Linked DNA regions of Homo sapiens: region 2 is linked to region 1. The links are contacts of gene promoters, found by promoter capture Hi-C in blood cells and fetal thymus (Javierre and others, 2016). All regions are on one chromosome and are shown on one strand. Each heading gives the region's core, a stretch centred on a gene start or on the middle of the fragment in contact. The rest is flanking DNA. Distances are from core to core; before and after follow the strand shown. Region 1 holds the start of SMNDC1 (survival motor neuron domain containing 1). Region 2 overlaps LOC105378482 (a long non-coding RNA gene).

Evidence for each region. The method cuts DNA at HindIII sites, captures the fragments that hold promoters and counts their contacts. A CHiCAGO score of 5 or more calls a contact.
Region 2: a contact is called between a fragment that was not itself captured here and the fragment with the promoter of SMNDC1 in region 1, in 1 of 17 cell types (activated CD4 T cells). The highest score is 5.5, in activated CD4 T cells.

What each region holds. Positions count from the first base shown.
Region 1 is chr10:110,303,467-110,308,964 of GRCh38, reverse strand. It overlaps SMNDC1 (survival motor neuron domain containing 1), which reads left to right and starts at 4,045. Exons shown (of 6, transcript NM_005871.4): 1 at 4,045-4,217; 2 at 5,378-5,497. The coding sequence starts at 5,378. RefSeq lists a silencer at 4,214-4,533. The HindIII fragment of the contact is 6,895 bases long and covers 738-5,498 here.
Region 2 is chr10:110,430,228-110,435,810 of GRCh38, reverse strand. It overlaps LOC105378482 (a long non-coding RNA gene), which reads left to right. Exons shown (of 4, transcript NR_188210.1): 3 at 604-687. Among named protein-coding and RNA genes, the nearest start is that of DUSP5-DT, 63 kb to the left of the region's middle. RefSeq lists an enhancer at 4,222-4,827. The HindIII fragment of the contact is 939 bases long and covers 2,368-3,306 here.

The sequences.
Region 1 (5,498 bases), core at 2,796-5,295:
TTGTTTGAACCTGGCAGGCAGAGGTTGCAGTGAGCCAAGATTGCGCCACTGCACTCCAGCCTAGGCGACAGAGCGAGACTCGTCTCAAAAAAAAAAAAAGAACTGCCATTTCTGGCCAGGCCCGGTGGCTCATGCCTGTAATCCTAGCACTTTGGGAGGCTGAGGGGGGGTGGATTACCTGAGGTCAGGAGTTCAAGACCAGCCTGGCCAACATGGTGAAACTCCGTCTCTACTAAAAGTATAAAAATTAGCCAGGCGTGGTGGCAAATGCCTGTAATCTGAGCTACTCAGGAGGCTGAGACAGGAGAATGGCTTGAACCCAGGAGGTGGAGGTTGTAGTAAGCCAAGATTGTGCCACTGCACTCCAGCCTGGGCGACAGAGAGAGACTCCATCTCAAAAAACAAACAAACAAACAAACAAACAAACAAACAAACAAAGCCTGACATTTCTTATCCTGTAAAGCCTTAGACTATAATCTTTTTCAACCTGAAGAAATTCTCGTTTTCCGTTTTTAGTGGCATATTTTTGTTTTTTAGTGGTACAGTCTTCTGTTCCTCAATGGTACGTGTAAAATACAGAATAATTGAAATGCACATCCTAAGGCTAGCAGTGCAATACAAATTTAAGCAAACAATTCAGGATTGCTATGACTGATGAACATCTGAAGACCTGCGCTGACCAACACCATTTTCAGGTTGTTTTCCATCAACTTTAAATGGATGATGCCACCTAAGCTTCATCCCAGGATATATGTGTTCCATGTACTGTATCCAAAAACACTCAATAAGCACAAAAAGGCAAGTAGCTTGTCCTGCAGCAAATTATGCAAAGATTCAAATCACTTATTAGGACTAAAGAAAGGAGCATAAAACAATTACTATGATTATGTACACAACTCTAATTCATCACCTTTGGCATTTGGTCAAGATAGAAAAAACGCGGCCAAATCTGGGGCTACTTTTAGTCAGGAAATGATACAATAAAAGCTGAGATAAAGAATGCAGTCTCTGCCCCAGGGAGGTGGCTCACCCTGTAATTCCAGCACTTTGGGAAGACAAGGTGGGCAGATCACTTGAGCCCAGGAGTTTGAGACCAACCTGGGCAACATAGCGAAACTCTGTCTCTAGCAAAAAACAAATAATACAAAAATTAGCCGGGCATGGTGGTGTATGCCTGTAGTCCCAGCTACTAGGGAGGCTGAGGCAGGAGGTTTGCTTGAGTCTGGGAGGCAGAGGTTGCAGCGAGCTGAGATTAAACCACTACACTCCAGCCTGGGCAACAGAGTAAGACCCAGTCTCAAAAAAAAAAAAAAAAAAAAAAAACCTATTTGACCAACATGTATTACTTTATTGCATATTCTTCTGCTTTACAGTGGGCTGGCACATTTCCAAAGAGCTATACTTAATTTTTTTTTTTTTAATTTAGGCCAGGCGCTGTGGCTCAAGCCTGTAATCTCAGCACTTTGGGAGGCTGAGGCGGGCGGACTGCCTGAGGTCAGGAGTTCGAGACCAGTCTGGCGAACATGGTGAAACCCCATTTCTACTAAAAATACAAAAAAATTAGCCAGGCGTGGTGGCGCACATCTGTAATCCCAGCTACTTGGGAGGCTGAGGCAAGGGAATTGCTTGAACCAGGGAGGTGGAGGTTGCAGTGAGCTGAGACTGCACCACTACACTTCAACCTGGGTGACAGAGGGAGAATCCATCTAAAAAAAAATTAATTTTTTAAAATTTGTGACAGGATCTCACTATGTTGCCCGAGCTGGAATGCAGCGGCTATTCACAGGCACAGTCAGTGTGTGCTGCAGCCTCAAACTTCTGGATGCCCTTCTCAGCCTTCCAAGTAGCTGGGTGCCATCATGCCATACTTTAATTTTCTTTAGTAGAAAGGAAATAGCTGTATATTCTGATGACAATTTGGAGCCTTTACATTTTATTTATTTACTGTCTTTCAATAAAATAAATATCACGTTTCAAAACTAAAGGTTTAAGATACTTTTTTTTAAATAAACATGATTAAGTTTGAATGCAAATGTTTTAAGAAAAATCAGACACTGAAAGTAAATTTTGACACTTCAAAGGAAATAGTAATTCAGAAAGCCTATTTGAAGTATTGCTCTTAGTTTTGTCTGCTCCAGTTTTGTCTGGAGCAACACCGCATACAATTGTGAAAATTAAATGAACCTGTGTAAAGTGCTTAGAATGGTATCTGGCACATACAAACTGTTATTTCTTTGTGAAAATTAAAATTCAATATAGCTTTTCTTTATAAATGAATGTTGCATAGATAAAAACAATCCTAAAAACAATCCTGAAAAAATTATTAAGATGGTATAGAAATCTATGATGGAACTTATAATGAATATTTGCCTATTTTCTGATCTATGGGGTTCAGGAAAAGTTCTCATTTAAGAGATTTTTACACAATAAGGTTGACTTTATATTCAAGGAAGTTCCTCCTCGCATCGGTTCTTAAAACACACAATTACAATAACAGAAGTTCTCTAAAACTACATTTTATTTTAAACGAATATTTATTTAAAAGCACATGCTTTCTGTTTTGTCTGCCTTCTTAATTCTAGCTACACACTGCTGCCCTCTGCTGCAATTTCAATCTTTCACACTCACAAACCCGACCTAGTTTCCATCTATACAGGTTATCTGACTCACTGCAAGGGTTATGTGTGTGTGTGTAGAGAACAAAAGGGAAGGCTCCTTGAAAAGAAAACTAGGAACTAAAGATGTTGGCACAGTTCAAAAGAGCCCATCTGAGAAGTGGGCCTTTTTTTTTTTTTTTGAGACGGAGTTTCACTCTTGCTGCCCAGGCTGGAGTGCAATGGCACGATCTCGGCTCACCGCAACCGCCGCCTCCAGGTTCAAGCGATTCTCCTGCCTCAGCCACCCGAGCAGCTGGGATTACAGGAATGCACCAACATGCTCGGCTTTTTGTTGTTGTTGTTGTTGTTGGTTTTTTTTTTTTGTATTTTTAGTAGAGACGGGGTTTCTCCACGTGGTCGAGCTGGTCTCGAACTCCTGACCTCAGGTGATCCGCGAGAAGTGGGCCTTTTTATGGATCCAGCAACAAACTCCCAACCTCCCAGGAAAGGTTGCTTCCTGTCATCTATATAAAACTTTGTGTCTCAGGCCTTTATTGCTTTTTTAATTGAAATAAATTATATATATATGGTTTAAAAAAAAAAGAAAAGGAAAAAGGGTAAACAGCAAAGAGGGTAATCAATAAAACATTTGGCTTCCACTCCAAACCTCTGAACAGTTTTGTGTATCCGTCCAGAAAGCGTATATATTATTACAAACATACACAAGGGGCATTTCTTTTTGAACACAAATGTGAGTATTCCTACCACTCTTTACCATTCTAGACTAACTTGGACGTTGTTCCCTATCAGGCGAGATTAACCCAACTAAATTAAAACCAAGTAGGTTTTAACAAAACAGATTTTAAAGAAATCAATCTTCTCTCCAATAGGTTATTTCTGTCACGATTTAATTAGCTTTCTGTTACTACTAAGGCTTGTATCATATAAAGTAGTGGTTCTCAGGCTGGGCGCGGTGGCTCACGCCTGTAATCCTAGCATTTTGGGATGCCGATGCAGGAGGATAGCTTGAGCCCAGGAGCTGGAGACCAGCCAGGGCAACGTAAAGAGAGCCCCCACCAACACCCCCCGCCACCCACCACCACCGCCCCGGAAAAGCAGTGGTTCTCAAACGTCAGCGGACATTGGTATCATCTGGTGAGCTTATTAAAACAAGAGTCTCTGGATTCAGGAGGTCTGGGGTGGGGCTTGAGAATTTGCATTTCCAATAAATTCCAAGCCGGAACTCCAGGAAGATAACCTGCATTCCGCGCCTGGCGAAGCCCAGCTACGCCATTTCCTTCCTAGGCCCCGCCTACTTCGTGTCCCTGACAGCCAGGGACTGGCTAGAGGGCGCGCGGAGTCACGTGAGTCGAGCGACCTCGCGCGAGAGTTTGTATTTCTCGCGAGACTTCACCGTCTCTGTCTTTTCCTCCTTCCAGTGCCCGGCGTTCCTCCCTTCCCCCTCGCCGCCGACCGAGTTCTTCCTTTTCAGACCGGGTCGCCTTGCTGTCGTCGCGGTGATTTTCCTGCTACTGCTACTGCTGCTGCTGCCACCGCCACTACCACTGGGCTCATTTGCCCCGACCCCTTCCCGCCGCCCCGCCCCCAGCCCCACACAAGGTAACAACCCCCCTGAGGGAGAGAGTAAGGCCTGGCCGGGCCCGGGTCCCTCCCGAGGTGAAGCGGAGGCCCAAGGCTGAGGAGCCCGCCTCGCCGGAGACGCCCAGGCGCTGGCCCTGGATCCCGGAGCCACGGCCGTCTCTCAGCCAGAGCTGAGCCTCGGCGGCCCGGCCGGCGCTGGCCTCCGTGCGGCGGCGGCAAACACGGCCCGCAGGGGACCGGGTCGGGTGGGGCTGGGCGCCGCGCGGCTCCCTGTGGAGCCTGCCTGTTGGAGCGCGGCGGGGCTCCGGCGGTGGTCTTGGAGCTGGCGTGTGGATTTCCACGTCCGAATGATCGAGTTGTGGCGGGCTTTGAGGTGCTGCGTGGCGGGGAGGAGAGCAGCCTGGGTCGCTGTAACTCTTAGGGGGCCTTTGCAGGCTCCCAGCCTTTGGTTGGACGGGAATTTTACGAAGGAGAAGGGTCCTCGGAAACGTGGTACATTTGCTTATAAACCATCAAAAAAGGTTAATTGGTATCTTATTTTCAGGAAAATGACTGAGCTGGATTTGGCGAAAGGCACATTCGTTAGAATGCCTAAATGGGAGAGTACCTGTGCTGTTCTTTTTGCTGAAGATAATGCACCGATAAATATTTAAGCGACTGGGCGAAAGATTTTTGTTTTGGAGAGGCACTTTTAAATACACTCTTAATTGAATAGTTCAAGTAAAGATCGTAGTTTGTGTAGTTAATTTAAAAACGCACTTGTTTGGCTTTGGAAGCATACTGTAGTGCTTAAAAATAAGTATTTGGATTGTTTTTGAAAGTTTCGACTTTTCCAACAGAGTAGTGCTTTTTAAAAAGATAACACTGATTATTGAGCCGAATTCAGCACCTACCCTGTGGATAGGAGTTAAAAGAAAATTAGAAATTTCTTTGTATCTGTATGCTTTTTTAAAGTATGGAATGTATCTCAAGTTTATAATCCTCAGAATCTGTTGCCTTTAAGTTTGTGGTTTAGCTGAAGTCTAAACTGAGAGTAAAGGTAATGGTGGTAAATTAAGCTGCAGTGTTAGAAGGAGTTAGAGGCAAAAACTGGTAATTCAGGCAGACAGGGGAGTTAGTTTTTTATGCCTTGATTTTTGGTTTAGTTTTCATGGTCTAACCCTTTTTATTTTCCCTAGATGTCAGAGGATTTAGCAAAGCAGCTGGCAAGCTACAAAGCTCAGCTCCAGCAAGTTGAAGCTGCATTATCTGGAAATGGAGAAAATGAAGATTTGCTAAAATTGAAGAAAGATTTACAAG
Region 2 (5,583 bases), core at 1,588-4,087, 130 kb before region 1:
AACTAACATTATTTACATAATAAGAATTCATTTTAAAATAATGGCTTGGTTACTCTGGGCTCACTGCTTATAGGGTAGCCCTGCTCCACAAGGAGCAGTGAAAATGTATAATAATAATAATAATAACAATAATGGCTATCACTAGAATGTAAGCAACAATATAAACCCTACAAGGGTAGATATTTTTTCCATTTTGTTTGCCAATGGATCCCAATAACCTAGAGCAGTGCTTGGCATATTGCAGGTTCTCAGTAAGTATTTGTTGACTAAAGTAATTACTGTTAGATACTATCTAAGTGCCTTTCAAGGATCGGTTTAATTAATTGTTACAACATTGTGAGGTGAGTAATATTGCACCCATTTTGCAGACTGAGGCAGAAATAAACTAAGAAATCCAGCCAAAGTCACATACCTAGTAAAGGGAGACTGTGTCCAAGCAGCCTGGCCCTAGGGCCCAGGCTCTTGATCACCAAGTCTATTGCCTTCCCTAACAGCAGTATCCTTAATAGCAATTATATTTCCTTAATAGCAATTATATTTCATTGAACTGTTTTTGTTCTGTTTCTCATACAATAATTTATTGATATCTGTGTCTCCTACCAGACTATGATGTCCGTGAGGTCAGAGGAAAGGGAGAATGTCTCACATACAGAAAATGCTTGATCAACATTGATGGAATCATAAATGGTATTTCCTTGTATCTCTCCGTGTACTGTATATGTCATTCACCAAATGTCTTGAAAACGATTTGGGGTTGGGGGAAAGGACGGAGGGGACAGTGGCTAGAAGCACAGAGTCCAGAGTCTGAAGTACTGGGTTTTAATTCCTGTCTCTATCCCTTTCTAGCTATGTGAACTTGGGCAAGTTACTCAGCCTCTTGGCCTCAGTTTGATCATCTATTAAATGGGGATAATAACAGCTTCTGCCTGCTAGAATTGTTGTAAGGATTAAATGAGATAATGCTTGATCCATGCTTGGCATAGTAAGGGCTCTATAAATGGCAGCTATTGTCACTGGTAATATGATGTTGTGTAACTTCTGCTTGCCCTGTGTCTCATGTGAAGCTGAAGCCTCCCATTAGCCCTTCCGCAGGCCACAGCCGGCAGCTTGTGGGCAGGTGCCTGCAACAGGCATGACCCACTCCTCCCCATCTGTCAGGGTGAATCCTCCACCACTTCCGGTCAGAGCTTACAACCTACTTATTAGGTTAATTAGACACAACACCTTTCCAAAGATACCTTGGCACCAAAGCCAGCCCTAACATCTGGTGAGCAGCTTGACAAGGATTTGGGAAATGACAAGTTGTCATCAGCCTCTGGCTGAAGCAAGTGGGTTGAGTTGGGGGGCAGAGGAACCACCCCATTCCTCTTTGGGGATCACTGGATGACTCCTGGGGTCTTTTCTGGGTAGGAATGCCAGATAAAATATAGGACACCCTTGTTAAATTTGAATTTCAGATAAACACCAAATACTTTTTTAGAATAAGCATGTCCCAAATATTACAAGGAAAATACTTATATTAAAAACTATTTGGTGTTTATCTGAAATTCAAATTTAACTGGGCATCCTGTTTGTTTGTTTGTTTTTTCCCCCTGAATCTATCAGTCCTATCTGTCGGGCATGTTGGAGTGTGAGACGAGGAGGGAAAGCCCAAGTGTTTGAAGGAGCAGGCACAGGCCTTGGTAGGGCCAGCTCTCTCTGAGCCCTGGCACCGGGAGCTCCTCTCTGGGCCTCCTGGGTCTGAGGTGAGGGTGTCTGGGGACCTATTGGAGCCAACTTCCTGCAGGGAGGCTCTGCGGGCGGAACAGGGCACTGCTGCCAACTCAGAGTTGTTTGCACTTCATGGCCTCCTGGGGCACTGGCCCCCTTCCTGGTTAACATCCTGGATGGGAGAACCAAGAACAACAGCACCTTCCCTGGAGAGGTGCTGAAGTCGTTCCAGGAGCACCTTGCTGGGAATAGGCCTCGGAGGCCCGGCCTGTTGGGACCTGGAAGACCAATCGGTCCTGCTACAGGAGGGCCCCCGAGCAGGTGCAGGGCTTTTCCGATGCCACACAGTGTGCAGGTAAACCTAGAGCGTGGTCTCCAGACCTCCCGTTCCCATCCCCTACCTACGTGGCTGCCTTTCTGTGCCATCAGGAGAGGAGCAGCTGTGGCCAGTGCAACTGGTGACTGAGCCCCTCTAACACAACAGGTTTCAAACTCAACCTCTCATCTGCCCTGTATTAGGCCATTCTCGCATTGCTATAAAGAAATACCTGAGACTGGATAATTTACAAAGAAAAGAGGTTTAATTGGCTCATGGTTCTGTAGGCTGTACAGGAAGCATAACACTGGCATCTGCTTCTGGGGAGGCCTCAGGAAGCTTCCAATCATGGTGGAAGGCAAAGCAGGAGCTTGCACATCATGTGGCACAAGTAGGAGTCGGGGGGCGGGGAGGTGCTACACAATTTTAAGGGACCAGATCTCCTGAGAACACACTCACTACCATGAAGGCGGCACCAAGGGGATGGTGCTAAACCATTCATGAGAAATTCACCCCCATGATCCCATCACTCCCTCCAATACTGGGTATTACAATTCAACATGAGATTTGGGCAGGGACACAGATCCAAACTATATCACTCCCCCTTCAATACATGGTACCCACACACCTGGCTGTGCAAACTAGAAACCTCAGCTTCATCCTGGGTGTATCAGTCAGCTAGGGCTGCTGTAACAAACACCACAGACTGGTGGTCTAAACAACAGAAATGTATTTCTCACTGTTCTGGAGGCTGGAAGTCCAAGATCAATGTGTTGGTAGGGTTGCTTTCTCCTGAGGCCTCTCTTCTTGGCTTGCAAATGTCTGGCTGTGTCCTCACATCCTCACATGGCCTTTCCTCTGTGCATGTGCACCCCTGATGTCTCTCTGTGTGTCCAAATTTCCTCTTCAGCTGGGCATGGTGGCTCACACCTGTAATTCCACACTTTGGGAGGCCGAGGCAGGTGGATCACCTGAGGTCAGGAGTTGGAGACCAGCCTGGCTGACATGGTGAAACCCCGTCTCTACTAAAAATACAAAAATTAGCCGAGTATGGTGGTGGGCGGCTGTAATCCTAGCTGAGGCAGGAAACTCGCTTGGACTAGGAGGCAGAGGTTGCAGTGAGCTGAGATTGTACCACTGCACTCCAGCCTGGGCAACAAGAGGGAAACTACATCTCAAAAAAAAAAAATAATAATTCCTCTTCTTATAAAGACACTAGTCAGATTGGATTAAGGTCCACTGTAACAGCCTTGTTTTAATTTAATCACCTCTTCAAAGCTTCTATTATGGTGCAAAAGTAATTGAAAGTAATGGCAAGATCCGCAATTACTTTTGCACCAAACTAATATATCCAAATACCATCACATTTGGGGCACTGGGGGTTAGGGCTTCAAAAAGTGAATTCTGGGGGTGTACAGTTCAGCCCATAATACTGGGCACTCCTGCCTGTCCCTTCTCCTGTGAGTCACTAAGCCCTGTTAAAGCCACTTCCTCTGTAGCGCCTCAATTTGTCTGCACCCTTTCATTGCCACCTGAGCCAGGTGGCCCTCGTCTCCCAGGCCAGACAGCTCTCCTCCTGGCTGGTCTCCTGCCTCCACTTTCCCTTCTCCAATCCATTTTGCACCTAGCCGCAGAGGAAACACAGCTCCACTCTTGTCCATCTCTACTCTCCCATCTTCTAAATCCATCACTGGCTTCTTATTTTTAGGATCAAAATTGCCTTACTGGCATACAGACCTCTGTGCGATCTAGCCCTGTCCCCTTTCCCAGGTCTAATCCCTCCTGTGGGAATCCCTCCATCCACACTGCAGCCGATCTGAGATCTGAACGTGAATCGAGCTCCTTCTTGCTTGGGGCTCTTCTTGCTAGCACAGGCTGTTCCGTCTGCCTTCCTCACTCCTCCCACCTCACCTTCCCCAGGCTTACCTCTACCCGTTCTACCTGTCCTCAGACCTCCACCTAGGCTCCACTTCCTCCAGAAAGCCTCCCCTCATCCCTACCAACCCTCAGGCTCTGAAGTGGGGGCTCCTCTTGGACACCCCCAGAACACTCTATTCTGATGCTTTGTTTGCTAGCCTGCCTTCTCTGCTAGTCTTCTCTGCGAGTGGCTTCTGTGAAGGCAGGGGCACATTCACTGCTCTATCTGCAGTAACCAGTGTGGCCCTGGCACACAGAAGGGCTCACCAGTTATGAGCTGTGATTTTTTACTGTTAAATTTCTGAGCAACGTCAGACTACAAAGCATTGGGGGGCAAAAGGAGAGTAAAAGAAAGGCCAGCTGGCCGGGCAGTTTTTCAGTTCTAGCCATACAACAGAATCGCTCGTGCTGCTTTCCAGATGTATCAATTCTCAGGCATCATCCCAGAGATTCTGATTCCATTGGTTGGAGGTGGGCCCAAGAGTGGTACTTTCTGAATATTTTCCAATATTCTATGTGCAGCTGGGATTGAGAAGCCCTGAGTGAGCACTAAGACTCAGCTCACTGGGTCTCAGCTCAGTAGATCCTTGCTGACGGAGGTCCTCCTCTACTGCTGGTGGGAGGACGGGGTCTCCAGATGTTTACTCCTGCCCCAGCTCTCCTTCCTCAGGGTGCGGCTCCCTGGGCTGAGCCGCAGTGGTTTCCTCCCCATGGAACCAGTCAAACCTCTCCCTGCTGGCTCCTTGGGGAGGCAGCCAGGCCCAGAAGGAGGAGCAGGGGCTAGGGTCTAGCCCAGCAGGCTAGGTCACAGGTCCCCTGCCAGAGCCAGCCCCAGGGGAATTCAGTTGGTTCCACAAATATTTGCCGAGCACCCAGACTGGGTCAGGTGCTTTGCCAGTTGCGAATCTAGTAACCAAGTCTGGCTACTGACCAGCCCTGTTACCCTAGCCTTGGACTAGGGCTCAAAGAGGAGCTAGATGAAGAGTACTGGTGGCTGGCTGTGGGCACTGTTATCCCCCAAAGCCACTTCCACGATCACCTAAGCAAAGGGGAAGGTGTGATCATCATGTCCCACCCCAGCTACCCTCTGTCTTTCCTATGGCCCAGTGTGGCCAGAACTGTTGCAGCAGAATCCCCTAGGAAGCTTGTTAAAAATGCAGGTTCCTGGGCTCCACCCTGGAAATCTGATTTAGAAGGTCCAGGGTAAGGCCCAGTAATCTAAATTTTCAGCCAGTTCCTCAAGGGATTCTGATGCAACAGCTCGCCGATGATTCTAGTGTGTAGCTGCCTTTAAGAATCACAATAGTCTAGGCTGGGCGTGGTGGTTTACGCCTGTAATCCTAGTACTTTGGGAAGCCGAAGTGGGTGGATCACTTGAAGTCACAAGTTCAAAAGCAGCCTGGGCACTATGGTAAAACCCTGTCTCTACTAAAAAAATAAAAATTAGCCGAGTGTAGTGATAAGCACCTGTAATCCCAGCTACTCAGGAGGCTGAGGAAGGAGAACTGCTTCAACCCAGAAGGCAGAGGTTGCAGTGAGCCAAGATCACGCCACTGCACTCCAGCCTGGGTGACAAAGCAAGACTCTGTCTCAAAAACAAATAAACAAACAAAATCACAGCAGTCTAATTTCCTCAGGTG